Linked DNA regions of Homo sapiens: region 2 is linked to region 1. The links are contacts of gene promoters, found by promoter capture Hi-C in human tissues and cell types (Jung and others, 2019). All regions are on one chromosome and are shown on one strand. Each heading gives the region's core, a stretch centred on a gene start or on the middle of the fragment in contact. The rest is flanking DNA. Distances are from core to core; before and after follow the strand shown.

Region 1 (7,209 bases), core at 860-3,359:
CCCCCAGGAGAGCGCGGCTGTGCCTTCTGCGGGGGCCTGGGTCATCGGATCACTGACTGCCCCAAACTCGAGGCTATGCAGACCAAGCAGGTCAGCAACATCGGTCGCAAGGACTACCTGGCCCACAGCTCCATGGACTTCTGAGCCGACAGTCTTCCCTTCTCTCCAAGAGGCCTCAGTCCCCAAGACTGCCACCAGTCTACACATACAGCAGCCCCCTGGACAGAATCAGCATTTCAGCTCAGCTGGCCTGGGATGGGCCAGGCTGGTCCTGGCTGCCTGTTCCCTGTGCTCTTCAGAATTACTGTTTTTGTTTCCTTTTACCCCAGCTGCCATTAAAGCCCAAACCTCTAGCCCAGCCCTGGCCCTGCCTCTGTGTTTCACCTCATCCGCCCCCTGGTTCCTGGACAGACGTCACCTCTGACCTCTGGAGCCCCTCTGAGGCAAGGCCCCAGCATCTCCCACTAGCACTGCCAACACCTGGCCTGCTGGTACTTGGCTGTGGAAGGAGCCACCGAGCTGGTGCCCGCCTCTGGGGACTCTGGGTCTCTCCACTGGGTTGTCTGAATTTATGACTCAAGGAGGGACCACATTGGCGGGCCAAGGAGAAGTGCTTGGATTCTCTGGTCTCCCTGGCCAGCTGTCATAGCTCTCAGGCCCACTCTTCCTGTCAGGGCTGTGATGTTTCAGGGACTTCTCCTGAAGCCCCTTGGGAGGCTGCTTCTTGCCTCAGGACCCCCACCCACTGCCTGCCTGTGCCAGCCACCTGGAGGGAGCCCTCCATTCCGTTGACTGAGGAGGCAGCAGATGTCATAGAACTGCCATTTAGGCCACAAGCTCTCCCTAAGCCTGCTCTGTGCCCAGCTCTGCTGAGCTGTGAGGACCTAGATGGGCCAGGGAGATGGCTGCCTGGGAAGCCGTCAGGCGAGGGGAGAGAAAGACGCACACGCAGAAACGTGGACGGCAGTCACAAGACCGCTAGCAGATGAGGCAGGATCTCAGCATCTGGTGAGAGGTAGGCAGGGACGGCACAGGCGGCCACACTTCCTCTGAGCCAGGCACTTTGCATGTATGGCCACATGCTCATTCCAGTGAGACAGCGGTTGCTCAAGCCATATTTGTCACTTGATATGTGGCATTGGGCAAGTTACTTAATTTTTCTGAGCACCGATTTCCTCACTGTTGAAATGGCGATGAGAACGCAAAGGATGTGGCGTCTGAGGTGGACGGAGCTTAGGGCTGCTTGGGCCACAGTGGGCACAGAGCTGGGTGCCAGGAGGCCTTCAGGACATATTTCCTGGCCAAGTGCATTCCCAAATGGCATTCCTTATCCTCTTCCATGTTCTCTCCCAGAGGTGGTGCTGAATGACCTGAGGCTGTTCCAGAATAAAGGTATACACACAGCCCCGCTATTGGCATCTTGCTAGGCAAGCCAACAAAAGGCGCCCCCAGCAGGAAGCAAAGCTTTAAATGAACATGTGACCTCTCCGGGGCCCCCTGGGACCTGCCACCCACACTCACGTGGTTGGGGCCATTCAGGGCTGTGGGTCCCATGTGGACTGGATGCCCAGCGTGAGTGTATACCGTGAGGGCCTTTGAGCTCTCGGACAGCGTGGAGTGGTCAAGGGAGGCCTCCAGGAGGAAGAGGTGGCCAACCGCCCCAGGCAGCACAGTGGTGAGGGGGCCCTGGAGGGGCTGGCCTGGGGGAGATGCAGGCCAGAACACACAGGTCCCTGAGTGTTGGGCTGAGGAGCCTGGGCTGCACCCCAGGAAGGGGAGAGACAGGTTGGTCTTGGGTTGTGGAGAGTGCTGCATGGAGGCCCAGTGGGGCAGTGGCCCCTGGGGGGATGCCAAAGGCTGGTGATGTTCAGTGGCTCGTGAGGTGGAGAGGAGCAGGTGAACACGAGAGAGATTTCAGGGAGAAAGAAAAGCAGCAAGATGGGGTGAGGCGCTCAAACCAGGACGCCGAGTGGGAAAGCCAGGAGTTGGCTAGAGAAGGGTCCTGGGTGGAGGCAGGGCCAGGGAGTGTCAGGCCCAGGGTGCGCAGCTGCCCGGGGCGGGACGGGGGAGGGGCGGGAACTCATGACTCGGGGAGCCAGACTGCGATCAGACGCGCGTGCCCAGCTGAACCAGGTGCGTGAGAAGGCTGCCTTCAGGTGGCCGGGGGCTCCCTCCAGGTAGGTGTGGGCACCTTGGGCAGCCAGAACCCCAGGGAGGAAATACATGCTGCCCCCAGCCCCTGAGCTGAAGACAGGCTCCCCTCCCCCCGGCCTGCAGCTGTCTCTAGACGGAGGGACGGGAAGTGGCCAGAAGGGGAAGTGTGAGGAGTTCCCGTCCAGCCTGTCATCAGTCTCCCCAGGTCTTGAAGCGGCGGCCCTGCTCCTGGCCGTGACCATGGACCCTCTGGAGACCCCTATCAAGGATGGCATCCTCTACCAGCAGCATGTCAAGTTTGGCAAGGTGGGGACCCCTGGCTGCCAGGCAGCTGCCAAGGACCAACAGTGGGTGGAGAATGCAGCCTCTGCCCCTGCCTCGGACAGCCCAGGCAGACCTGGGAGACTTGGGAAGGGAGTCAGGGTGGAGGATCCCACCCAGGTATGGGGAGTGGAATGGAGTGCGGGTGTCAGCCTGAGACGGCAGGGGCTGAGCAGGCTCTGCCAGACCCTGCCTCCGGGAGAGATGGGAAATACAGGAGTGGGAGAGGGTCGAAGGCTCAAACCTCCCAGCAGGGAAGAGCTTCACAGCCTCTGACCCATGAAATAGTGCCACCGAGGGCCCTAAATAGGGTGAGGGGCTGAGCTGGAGGAGGCCTCAAGGGTGGAGCCCCTCCCTGCAGCGGCACTGTCCTGGGAGCAAGGAGGCAGGGGGTCACCTCTCCTCGGCAGCAGCCCCACACCCCCGCAGCTCAGCTGCAGCTGCTGCCCAGGCAGATAAACCGTCAGTTTCCTTTGCTCGAAGCTATTTGCATGTTTCCTTCCTTAACAGCTTGAGGCAGAGGCCTCCCTCCCACCCCAGCTCTTGGCCTGTGGCCCAAGTGCCCCTTTTTGGGGGTGAGAGGGAACCAATATAATGGCAGTGTCTGGTGGTCTGCCCGGCCACTGGATGCTTTACAAACATGACCCAGTAGCAGTCCCAGCTCGAGTTCTCATGGCCTTTTGAGAGACGACATTGATGCTTGTGGAGGTCACAGTTAGGAAAGAGCGGGCTGGGATTTGAACCCAGGGCTGACCAATCCCAAGCATAGCCAAGGCCTCCTTACCTGGCTCCCTGAGAAACTGGGGAGCAGAGGCCCGCTCCTGGCTGGGAGCGTTTGCCGAGCAGCTTGTGCTGAGCCAAGTGGCACGGACAATCTGCCACCCAAGGGTCTTCACCCTCCCGCTCCCCTCCCGCAGAAGTGCTGGCGGAAGGTGTGGGCTCTGCTGTATGCAGGAGGCCCATCAGGCGTGGCACGGCTGGAGAGCTGGGAGGTCCGGGATGGTGGCCTGGGAGCAGCGGGTGACAGGTCGGCAGGGCCTGGCCGGCGAGGGGAGCGACGGGTCATCCGCCTGGCTGACTGTGTGTCCGTGCTGCCGGCTGACGGCGAGAGCTGCCCCCGGGACACCGGTGCCTTCCTGCTCACCACCACCGAGCGAAGCCATCTACTGGCTGCTCAGCACCGCCAGGCCTGGATGGGCCCCATCTGCCAGCTGGCCTTCCCGGTGAGTGCGGCGAGCAGGGGGGCGATTGGGCTGGGGCACCTGCCCCCGACTTGTCCACCTCCACGCTCACATCCCATCACCCAGCAAGCTCCACCGAGCACCTACAAGCCTGGGAAAAGTAAATCTATAATGACTCTCAGAGGGCCGTGCGTGCCATGGAGAAAATGGACCGCCAGGGGAGCAGGAGGAAGTGAGGGAGCGACGGGCAGGGTGGCCAGGGAAGGCCTCTCAGAGGAGGGCCCTGAATGACAGGAACCCACTGGGCAAAGGTCTGAGGACAGGGGCAGCCTGGGGAGTTGTGAACAGAGGGAGTCCCGTGGGCAGAGGCCCCGAGGCCGGACAGTGTGGGGTGTTTAAGGGCAGAAAGAAGGCGACGTGGCTGGAAGGAAAGGAGTGCAGGAGGAAGCCAACTCACAGAGCTTAGGAGAGCGGCTGAAATGCCCTAGGCCATGTGTGTGGTTTTGTTCTGAGTGAGAGGCGAAGGCTTTGGAGGGTTTAAGCCGGACATGTTTGTAAAGCCCCAAAAGGTCTGTGATGGGTCAAAAGGAAGTGAGCCTGGGGGTTCTTCAAAGAGGTAAACAGAGTTACCATGTGGCCCACAGGTCCACTCCTAGGTGTGTGCCCAAGAGAACTTGAACAGGTGTTCAAACAAAACATGTACATGTGAGGCAGGAGGATCGCATGAGCCCCAGAGGTCGAGGCTGCAGTGAGCTGTAATCGTGCCACTTCACTCCAGCCCGGGAGACAGAGCAAGACCCTATCTTAAAAAAAAACCCACATGGACATGAACGTCCATAGCAGCACTACTCACAGCCACCAGAAGGTGGAAACAGCCTACATGGCCATCAGCTGACAAATGGATAAGCAAAACGTGGTCCGTCCGCAAGATGGAATACTACTCAGCCATAAAAACAAACAAACGCCTGGCACAGTAGCTCTTGCCTGTAATCTTAGCACTTTGGGAGGCTGAGGTAGGAGGATTGCTTGAGCCTAGGAATTCAAGATCAGCCTGGGCAACATAGTGAGACCCTGTCTCAAAAAAAAAAAAGAAAAGAAGAAAGAAAGAAATGTACAGACAAGGTAACTCCATTGGGATAGAAATCAGATGAGTGTTGGCAGGAGCTGGAGGAAGGGAGAAGTGGGGAGTGGCTGCTCATGGGTACAGGGCTTCCATGTGGGATGATGGAAAAGTTCTGGAACTAGACAGTGGCAACAGTGCACAGCCTTGTGAGTATACTAAAAAGCACTGGTGGCCGGGTGCGGTGGCTCAGGCCTATAATCCCAGCACTTTGGGAGGCCGAGGCGGGCGGATCACCTGAGGTCAGAAGTTCGAGACCAGCCTCAACATGGAGAAACCCCGTCTCTACTAAAAATACAGAAGTAGCTGGGCATGGTGGTGCATGCCTGTAATGCCAGCTACTCGGGAGGCTGAGGCAGGCAGAATTGCTTGAACCTGGGAGGCAGAGGTTGCGGTGAGCCGAGATCATGCCATTGCACTCCAGCCTGGGCAACGAGAGCAAAACTCCGTCTCAAAAAAAAAAAAAAAAAAAAGAAAAGAAAAAAAAGAGCACTGATGATACACTTTAAGATGTAAAATGGGCCGGGCGTAGTGGTTCACACCTGTAATCCCAGCACTTTGGGAGGCCGAGGCAGGCGGATTACCTGAGGTCAGGAGTTCGAGACCAGCCTGGCCAACATGGTGAAACCCTATCTCTACTAAAAAAAAATTACAAAAATTAGCTGGGTGTGGTGGCACACGCCTGTAATCCCAGCTACTACTTGAGAGGCTGAGGCAGCAGAATTGCTTGAGTCTGGGAGGCAGAGGTTGCAGTGAGCTTAGATCGCACCACTGCATTCCAGCCTGGCCGACAGAGCAAGACTTTGTCTCAAAAAAAAAAAAAAAAGTAAGATGGTTAAAACAGTAAATTTTATGTTCTCTGTATTTTATCATATTTTAAAAATCAAAAAACAAAAGGCAGTTGAGGTTAGGCATGGAGGTTCGTGCCTGTAATCCCAGCACTTTGGGAAGCCGAAGCACGTGGATCACCTGAGGTCAGGAGTTCGAGACCAGCCTGCCCAATATGGTAAAACCCTGTCTCTACTAAAAATACAAAAAATTAGCCAGGCATGGTGGTGGGCACCTGTAATCCCAGCTACTTGGGAGACTGAGGCAGGAGAATCACTTAAACCCGGGAGGCGGGCTGGGCGCGGTGGCTCATGCCTGTAATCCCAGCACTTTGGGAGGCCGAGACAGGCGGATCATGAGGTCAGGAGATCGAGATCATCCTGGCTAACATGGTGAAACCCCATCTCTACTAAAAATACAAAAAAAATTAGCCAGGCCTGGTGGCGGGCACCTGTAGTCCCAGCTACTTGGGAGGCTGAGGCAGGAGAATGGCGTGAACCTGGGAGGCGGAGCTTGCAGTGAGCCAAGATCGCGCCACTGCACTCCAGCCTGGGCGACAAGAGTGAGACTCCATCTTAAAGAAAAAAAACAAACCCGGGAGGCGGAAATTGCAGTCAGCCGAGATCTCGCCATTGCACTCAAGTATGGGTGACAGAGCAAGACTCCATGTCAAAAAAAAAGGCAGTTGACAGGAGCAAGGAGCCTGGTGAGGAAGCTGTGGCATTTGACCCGGCTGTGTTGCTATGGGCCAGGGTGGTGCTAGTAGAGGAGCTGAGTGGGAAAGAGCACAGGGGACATGCTGAAGGCCTGGGTGTGGGGATGAGGCAGAGATTGGGGGCACCTTGCAGGGTCATAGCAGGTGGCTGTGGTGAGATGGAGGAAGACACCTGGGGTACTGCTCTAGGCTGTCAGACATACAGAAGCTGGCCCAGCCAAGCCCAGGGGCTGCAAGGGACATCCTTTTGTGTCCCCAGTGATCTGCAGCTCTCAGACACCCTCAAGCACAGTGCCTCTTGCCCAGCCCAGCACTCTCAGTGGGGAGCCAGGTGGGAGAACAGGCTCGGAAGGGGACCTAGGCTTATGCAGCGAGCCGGGCAAAGCTGGAACTGGAGCCCAGGCCCCTGGATGCCCCCTGGCTTGTGGAGTTCTGGGATACTGAGGGGAGGGGACAGGGCATGGGAGTGCGGTGCTCTCACCTTTGACTTGAACTCATTCCCCAGGGGACAGGGGAGGCCTCCTCAGGATCCACAGATGCCCAGTCTCCCAAGAGGGGCCTGGTCCCCATGGAGGAAAACTCCATCTACTCCTCCTGGCAGGAAGGTAAGTTGGAGGACGTGCAAGGGCAGCCTCAGCCCCCCACACCCAGGGCTGGGTCTTTTTGGGACTGACGGAGCTGTCCTGGCCACCTGCCACAGTGGGCGAGTTTCCCGTGGTGGTGCAGAGGACTGAGGCCGCCACCCGCTGCCAGCTGAAGGGGCCGGCCCTGCTGGTGCTGGGCCCAGACGCCATCCAGCTGAGGGAGGCCAAGGGCACCCAGGCCCTCTACAGCTGGCCCTACCACTTCCTGCGCAAGTTCGGCTCCGACAAGGTGAGGTGCAGGGGTGG
Region 2 (7,209 bases), core at 3,761-6,260, 220 kb after region 1:
ATGTTGGTCTAAGGACAAAGGAGGGGTAGACAAGTGGGAGGAAACTAGCCAAACAGCACTTCCTGTTGGCAGTCTGTGAGCTGGGTGAATGGTAGGGCAGGGTAGCACCAACAGATTTCCCAGCCCTTGGGCCCCAGCTCAGGGCAGCAGTAACAGATAATCAGCAGTTAATAGGAGTCATCTCTTAGCCTGGACGTTGCTCTAAACACCACCTCTTGCCAGTCTTCAGGGAAGGGTTCTGGCTTGCCTTTGAGCTAAGTCAGCAGGCAGGTGCTCTCAATACAGAGCACAGCAATTCTCAGGGAGGCGAAGAAGAGGACTCCCTCCACTCAGGAGGGAAAAGGAATGGGGAAAAGAAATTTCCCATCAGGATCTGGTACTCTTCCTGAAGCTGGTGTGTCTAGCTCAGAGCTTGCCAGAGATTCCCTATGTCCACTGCCCGAGGCTCTGAAATCTGAAAGCACCTGAGTGTTTTAGGGAAATAGGGATGGGGTGGATTCATGTACAAAGAGAAAAATAGGTAGAAACAAAAGCAAAGAAAGAGAAGCTTGCCAAATGCCTTCTTCCACTGCTGGAAATCTACATTCGCACAGAGCCCGACTGCCCCTGACCACCTGCTCCTCCAAGGACTGATCTTGAGACTCTGCACAGCCCAGACAAAAGCAGCAGCGGCGACCCCACAGCCAACAGCCTTGCTGGCCTCAATGCAGCACCCTTGCATCTATAGAGGAGACCTCTGTGAGTGTGCGCGCATGCACACGCACCCATGCACACCGCAGCCAAGAGACACTTCCTCAACACAACCACTTCTGGTGCCACAAAGGACATTTCAAAATGAGTCTAAAGCCCCAGGGCCCCTCAGAACTTCCTGTTACTTCCTGGTCAAAGGTTCCTGAAAGCCTTGGAATCCAGGCTCACAGGGATGAGGCCTGTATCTCTCATCAGTGACTAGCACCCGGCCTAGAACACGTGAATGCTCAGGAAATCGCCACTGATTTGAAAGAACACCATTTCCTCCCAAGGGTTCCTAGGTGCCCTCAATGGGGCTCTGTCTGGTTGGGGAAATCGCTTTGAGAGCCCCTATACCTTCCAACCTGACCAGCGGAATTGAATTCCATACTTGACTCCAGAGTGGACTTTTTATTTCACGATGACCATGTGGAAAAGTTGGGGGAAAGAGACCCAAGTCTGTCTGTCTCCTTGGTTGGGGCCCACTGGATTTTCATACATGGTTCACACAACCATAAGCCCCCACTGGCTAATGTCACAAGAGTTCTGAGTGTTGGGATATGAGGAAAGAATAACAGTGGGAAAGTGTTCGGGGCAGATGTGTTTTTTTTTAAGGGGGAAAGAAAGAAAAGATTTCCCCTCCCCAAATGGTACCCTGGGGGCAGCTTGTTTGTTCATGTGACATTGATTGGTACTACTTCTGTTCTGATTCTGCACACTTGTGACTGGAAGGAGCCTGGTTAAGAGCTGGAAGTGTATTTTGCTCTGGTTTGGGGTCTTGCCCTCTTCCAAGAGACCAGCAAGTCTGTGCCAATGTCTGTGTGCTCCCAGCAGACCAGCAAGACTGTGCCAGTGTCTGTCCAGCCACTATGGGCCAGAGCCCTGCCCGTGATGAGGCTTTTCCCAGGGCCCAGGGACTTTGCTCTGTGGTTACCAACTTCTTTTCTTCAGTGGGGAGGGAGGCTGGGGCCTTCCCGAGAGACCTAAAAGATTGCCCACTCTTGGCGGCAAGTGCAGGTAGTTGCTGGCCTCCGACCATCTGCTTCGCCTGCTTCACCAGGCCCGGGGATTGGCTAAGAGGCCCTGGGGTCTGCTCAGCCCCTGCAGAAGCTCTTCCTGAGGCCTGAGTTGTTGGCTCATATAAAAAGGCCTTGGCAGGAGGCTGAGAAAGAAGTCTGGCCTGGGTGAGTGATTTAACAGCTTGCCAGGGGTCCTCTGAAGGGGCTGCTGCTTTCCCAGATGTCTGAAGAGGATCTGACACACAGCCTTTCTCAACAGCTCTCGGCATATGCCCCAGACCTTTGCTGGCAGGCCATGAACTTGACTCCAACACTGGCATCTTCTCATCAGCCTGTGGTGTGACCTGATGAGGTGAAGCTGCCCGCTCCTTCTGGCGAGGAGTTAGGTCTATGAGATCCATCACCAAAGCAGCTCTATTTTTTGACTGAGTATTCTGGTCCACAGGCCTCAGTGCTTTTTCTTTAGCTACAAGGGTCTGGACCACAGCTGATAGTACTTTCTCAGGAGGTGGGAGTCTCTGGGACAAAGAGGCATGGGGTTTGTCAGTAGGCCTGTCTGAAGTCTGGGGTTTGGGACTGCTAGTAATGAGCAGTCTGTCTGGCGGCGGAAGTCTCAGGCCAGTGGGAACTGAGGTTTTCTCCAGTGACTGGGGCCTTGGGCTGGCAGCACCTATGGATTTATCCAGCCTTGGGTCAGCCGTCCCCAGAGGTCTTTCCAGTGGTTGGGACCTGACTGAGGGTGAGGAGCTTGGGCTGGTCACTGGAGAGGGTTTGTCGCTTAGCTGGGGTCTTGGTCCTGCCACTGCTGGTGGCCTGTCCAGTGGCCTCTGGCTGGAAACCAAGGATTGGGATTTGGTCCCTGACCCAGCGAGGTCTCTGACCTTATCTAAAGGCTGGGGCCTGGAGTCAGTTCTCTCAAGAGGTCTTTCAGGTAGCAATGGCCTCTGACAAGTCCCTGCCAGAGCTTTTTTGGAGAGCGACAGCATCTGGTTGGTGTCAGCAGGAGGTTTATCTGACATTTTGGGTGCCTGAGCAGCCATTCCTGTTGATTGCTCTGCCAGGTGAGTGCTTGGCCCTGGAGGCAGCGGTACTGGGGGAGGCACATACTCACGGATCTCCCCAGGTTCCAGAGGATTGGGCCCACAGGGGTCATGCTCAGTACAAGACAGACGCCCATCCAGTTTGGAAATGAAAAGCATCCCTTCTCGATGCTGCTTACAAAAGGAGCTGGGGCACATCTCACAGAAGGAGGCTGCTTCCTTCCCGCAGATGTCACACTGATGCCACGGACATTCCCATTTCCCTGAAAACACAGAAGTAAATCAAAAGTTTAGGAAAAAAGAGATACATATCACATGGGCCAAGGCTATGCTACAGTCCGAAGGTGTGGATGATGACCTTCCTTCACACTGTCCCTGCTTCAGAGAGCTTATGCCACTCACCAGCCACCTCTTGCCCCAGAATTCCAGCTTCTTTTTGTGCACAGAATACATAAAGTAACAGCGAATTATCAAATAGCAACTACTATCAACTAAATATACAAGCAGAAGAGTAAATTGGTATTTCTATGACTATTTCCAGCAAGGAGGTGAGGGGGGGGCGGGGGTGGGGACAACAAAAAGTTTCTTTTACATGAAACTTAAGATATTACTTTTATATTTTTGCAATCTCCATTTGTACTATACAGCTTTTAAATAAGCAACTCAAAGAGAAATATCCTGGTGATTTAGATTCCTGCTTATTTGCTATTAACAGTAATAGAAAAGATATAAAATCATGAAAAATGGAAGATTTACCTTTGCTCTATTTTAAGTCTTGAGATCAGCACAGCACGTTATATGTTGTTCACATGGAATCAGTAGAAAAGACCCAAAGCTGACCTAAGCTTTTACCTGCCTCCCCACATTTCATGAAACCTGAGGGTCTTGACCAGGGACAGTGTTTCCACCTTCAAATCAACTACACCAGCTCCCACTCCTGGCACACAGGCAAGATTGGTTCTATCATAGCCTGCGCCAGTGACGACCCTGAGCAGTTGATTCTGAAACAATTCTACTTCCTGGTGCTGACAGGTCAATGTGATGGCCTTGCCCTCATCCTACCTCAGTTTCTTTTATTTCATGACCCTGGCCAATATACAGTGAAGGAAAGCCAATTTGGGGACAAATTCCTTTTACTTATACCCTAAAGTTCTTAACGTTCTGCAACTCTTGGAAGCAGGTCACTAGTAATGTATAATCTCCTCACCCTGGAATGGCTCCCTACTGGTTTCTCTTTTTTGTTCATTAAAATAGATGGCATATCCAAATCCCTAAAATTCTCTAACCCCAAATCACTACTCAAAGGTTCTCAATTTCTTCAACTACAAATTTCCTGGGTACCACATCCACCTGAGCAGCTTTCTCATGTATTAACTGATACAACCAAATCTCCTTTAGAGGAAAAAAGTCTACTCTGCATGGGGGGAGACTGCACTAGGCGTAGGGGAGCAAGGTAGGAAGTGCTAAAAGGGTGGCAATCCATCTCTCACTGACTAGAACCACCTAAAGGCTTTACTATCTCAATCTTTCTTTCTCTAGAAAGGCAACATGATTTAATAGTCTTGGAGTCAAAAACCCAGCTCTCAATCCAGCTCCTCTATCTATGTGTGAAAGATCACCTCCCCAATCCTCACTCTGTTTCTTCACATGCATTATGGAAGAAAACCAACCATTATGGGCTGCTGGGGGAATGAAATAAACATGACTGTAAGTAAAGGACCTGAAACACAGCAAGTGCACCGCTGTCCCATTCTTCATAACTAAGAATTCTAAGCCTTTGCTTTCATTATTTCCAAAATAAGAAAATAGACCATACCCCTCAAAATTATGCATGGAAAGACCAAATGGCACTTTCTTCAAGGCTGATGCAAATGGCATGAGACCCTGAGTATGATGGAGAGAACGAGTAGCGGTACAAATGGATTTTGGCACCAACCTGCTGGTCGCTTGGTCAGATTGAGACAGTCTGCGTGGTAAACTTTTGGGCAGCCTGGTTTCTTGCAGGAGACGAGCTGGCCAGCATCCCCACAACTAAAACACTCATCTTCTCGCTCCTTTGTGATTTCACCCTGGGTCCTGCGCTTTCCCTGTTGCTTCTTCTTGAATTTCTTTGACTTTTCTTCCGTGGCAATGGGTTGATTCTACAGGTCAGATATTGAACAGTCAGCATTCTGTGAACACATTAGTACCAATCTTAACCGGGTTAACTACCCTCTCTGAGCCTCATTCTCTTCTCTGGGAAAAGAGATTGTCATGAAGATAAAATGCAGGAAAGGTACCTGGTACATCACAGATACGTAGCAATAATTTTTGTATCAACTACTCCTGCCACCTGAACAAAACAGAAGACAAAAATCTTTGTGTTTTTGCTGATCCATAAGGCTGGTGTTAAATGACATGCCTTTCATAAGTTTTATTAGTTAATTAATTTATTTATTTTTCAAGACGGAGTCTTGCTGTGTTGCCCAGGCTGGAGTGCAGTGGCGCGATCTCGGCTCACTGCAACCTCCGCCTGCTGGGTTCAAGCAATTCTCCTGCCTCAGCCTCCTGAGTAGCTGGGATTACAGGCGCCCACCACCACTCCTGGCTAATTTTTGTATTTTTAGTAGAGACGGGTTTTCAGCATATTGGTTAAGCTGGTCTCGAACTCCTGACCTTGTGACCCACCCGCTTTGGCCTCCTAAAGTGCTAGGATTACAGGCGTGAGCCACCGCACCTGGCCAAAGTTTCACTTTTATATTCGTCTACTTTCAGAACTAAACTAGACTTCTGTGTGTGGGTACACATGCCTATTTCTCGTTCATTCAACAAAGCATAACTGAACTTACTATAAGCAATGTGTTAAGACACAAAAAAGTTAATTCATGGTCCCTGCCGTCAATAAGACTACACATCAAGTCAAATTAGCTTCAGGTCCACCACTCCCAAGGCAGACCCTGGAGCAGCCAGCAGATGTTCTCTCTTTGTTCCCTGCAGCCCACACTTGGTCACCAAATCATCTTATCACATTCTTCATTTTAACCCAGAAACATCCAGGACCAATCTGTAAGGCTTAATGGAGGTCCACCCTATTCTGACAGACCAGTATCTACTAAGAGCACACAGTGACCTCTCTAGCATCTACCTCTGACTGACTCCTGTGAAATGCTATCCCATGCAGACATCAAGGATGCTGAAACTGACATCCGCACTACACTTAATACCATTAAGTACAGGTTAAACTGAGTTACTATTTTAATTTATAGGAAACAAGTCAACATCTTAAGGAACAACACCGTTAAACCAACAAAACTAAACAAAAAGCACAATAAAATCCAGTATAATATAGAGGTGATTCTCCTTATTTAACAAGATTAAAAAATGATCATTGAGTGCTCTTCATTTCTGGCCAGGCGCAGTGGCTCACGCCTGTAATCCCAGCACTTTGGGAGGCTGAGGCAGGTGGATCACCTGAGGTCAGGAGTTTGAGACCAGCCTGGCCAACATGGGGAAACCCCATCTCCACTAAAAATACAAAAAATTAGCCAGGTGTGGTGGCAGGGGCCTGTAATCCCAGCTACCTGGGAGGCTGAGGCAGGAGAATCACTTGAACCTGGGAGACGGAGGTTACAGTGAGCCGAGATCATACCATTGCACTTCAGCCTGGGCAACAGAGCGAGACTCCGTCTCAAAAAAAAAAAAAAAAATTTATTTACTCTTTTCTTATTGGCTTCTATGTTAATTTGCATTTTTCAGTTCTTAATGTTGAGCTTCACAATCAAAAAGGCATATGGAACATACTCAATTGAAGTCACTATATAGTTTATTTTGTATCAAAATTAAACTGCAATTTTCACTGTGCTGTTACTTATGATACAGAAATCTTGAATTATCCAGATGTTCATCTAGTATGTCCATCCATTATATAAAAAAATTAAGACAGTCACTAAAAATGATCAGCAAGGACTTTAAAAAATAATAATATAAGGGCCGGGCACAGTGGCTCACGCCTGTAATCCCAGCACTTTGGGAGGCTAAGGCGGGCGGATCACGAGGTCAGGAGATCGAGACCAACCTGGCTAACAACAGTGAAACCCTGTTTCTACTAAAAATATAAAAAATTAGCCGGGCATGGTGGCGGGCGCCTGTAGTTCCAGCTACTCAGGAGGCTGAGGCAGGAGAATGGCGTGAACCCGGGAGACGGAGCTTGCAGTGAGCCGAGATTGCGCCACTGCACTCCAGCCTGGGCAACAGAGCGAGACTCCACCTCAAAAAAAAAAACACAAAACAACAACAACAAAAAAAATAAGGAGAATATAGACATGGAAATGATACTTAACAGTTACAGAATTAGAATTCAATTATTCAGAAAGTGCATACTAAAAAAACAGGAAGACACAACAATGCTTATACTTTTTTATAATGGTGAGATTAAGAGTTCT

Evidence for each region. Contacts are between HindIII fragments. The study calls those that stand out against the background at their distance.
Region 2: a contact is called between a fragment that was not itself captured here and the fragment with the promoter of DOK3 in region 1, in 1 of the 25 tissues and cell types used here (spleen).

What each region holds. Positions count from the first base shown.
Region 1 is chr5:177,504,726-177,511,934 of GRCh38, reverse strand. DOK3 (docking protein 3) reads left to right here and starts at 2,109. Exons shown (of 6, transcript NM_001308236.3): 1 at 2,109-2,177; 2 at 2,278-2,460; 3 at 3,393-3,698; 4 at 6,825-6,924; 5 at 7,020-7,192. The coding sequence starts at 2,395. DDX41 (DEAD-box helicase 41) reads left to right here. Exons shown (of 17, transcript NM_016222.4): 17 at 8-358. The coding sequence ends at 144. RefSeq lists enhancers at 1,704-1,853, 3,674-3,723, 3,744-3,853 and a silencer at 1,984-2,123. The HindIII fragment of the contact is 13,536 bases long and covers 1-7,209 here.
Region 2 is chr5:177,289,674-177,296,882 of GRCh38, reverse strand. It overlaps NSD1 (nuclear receptor binding SET domain protein 1), which reads right to left. Exons shown (of 23, transcript NM_022455.5): 22 at 4,725-4,929; 23 at 1-3,051. The coding sequence ends at 1,424. Among named protein-coding and RNA genes, the nearest start is that of RAB24, 10 kb to the left of the region's middle. RefSeq lists enhancers at 182-681, 682-1,183. The HindIII fragment of the contact is 5,839 bases long and covers 2,091-7,209 here.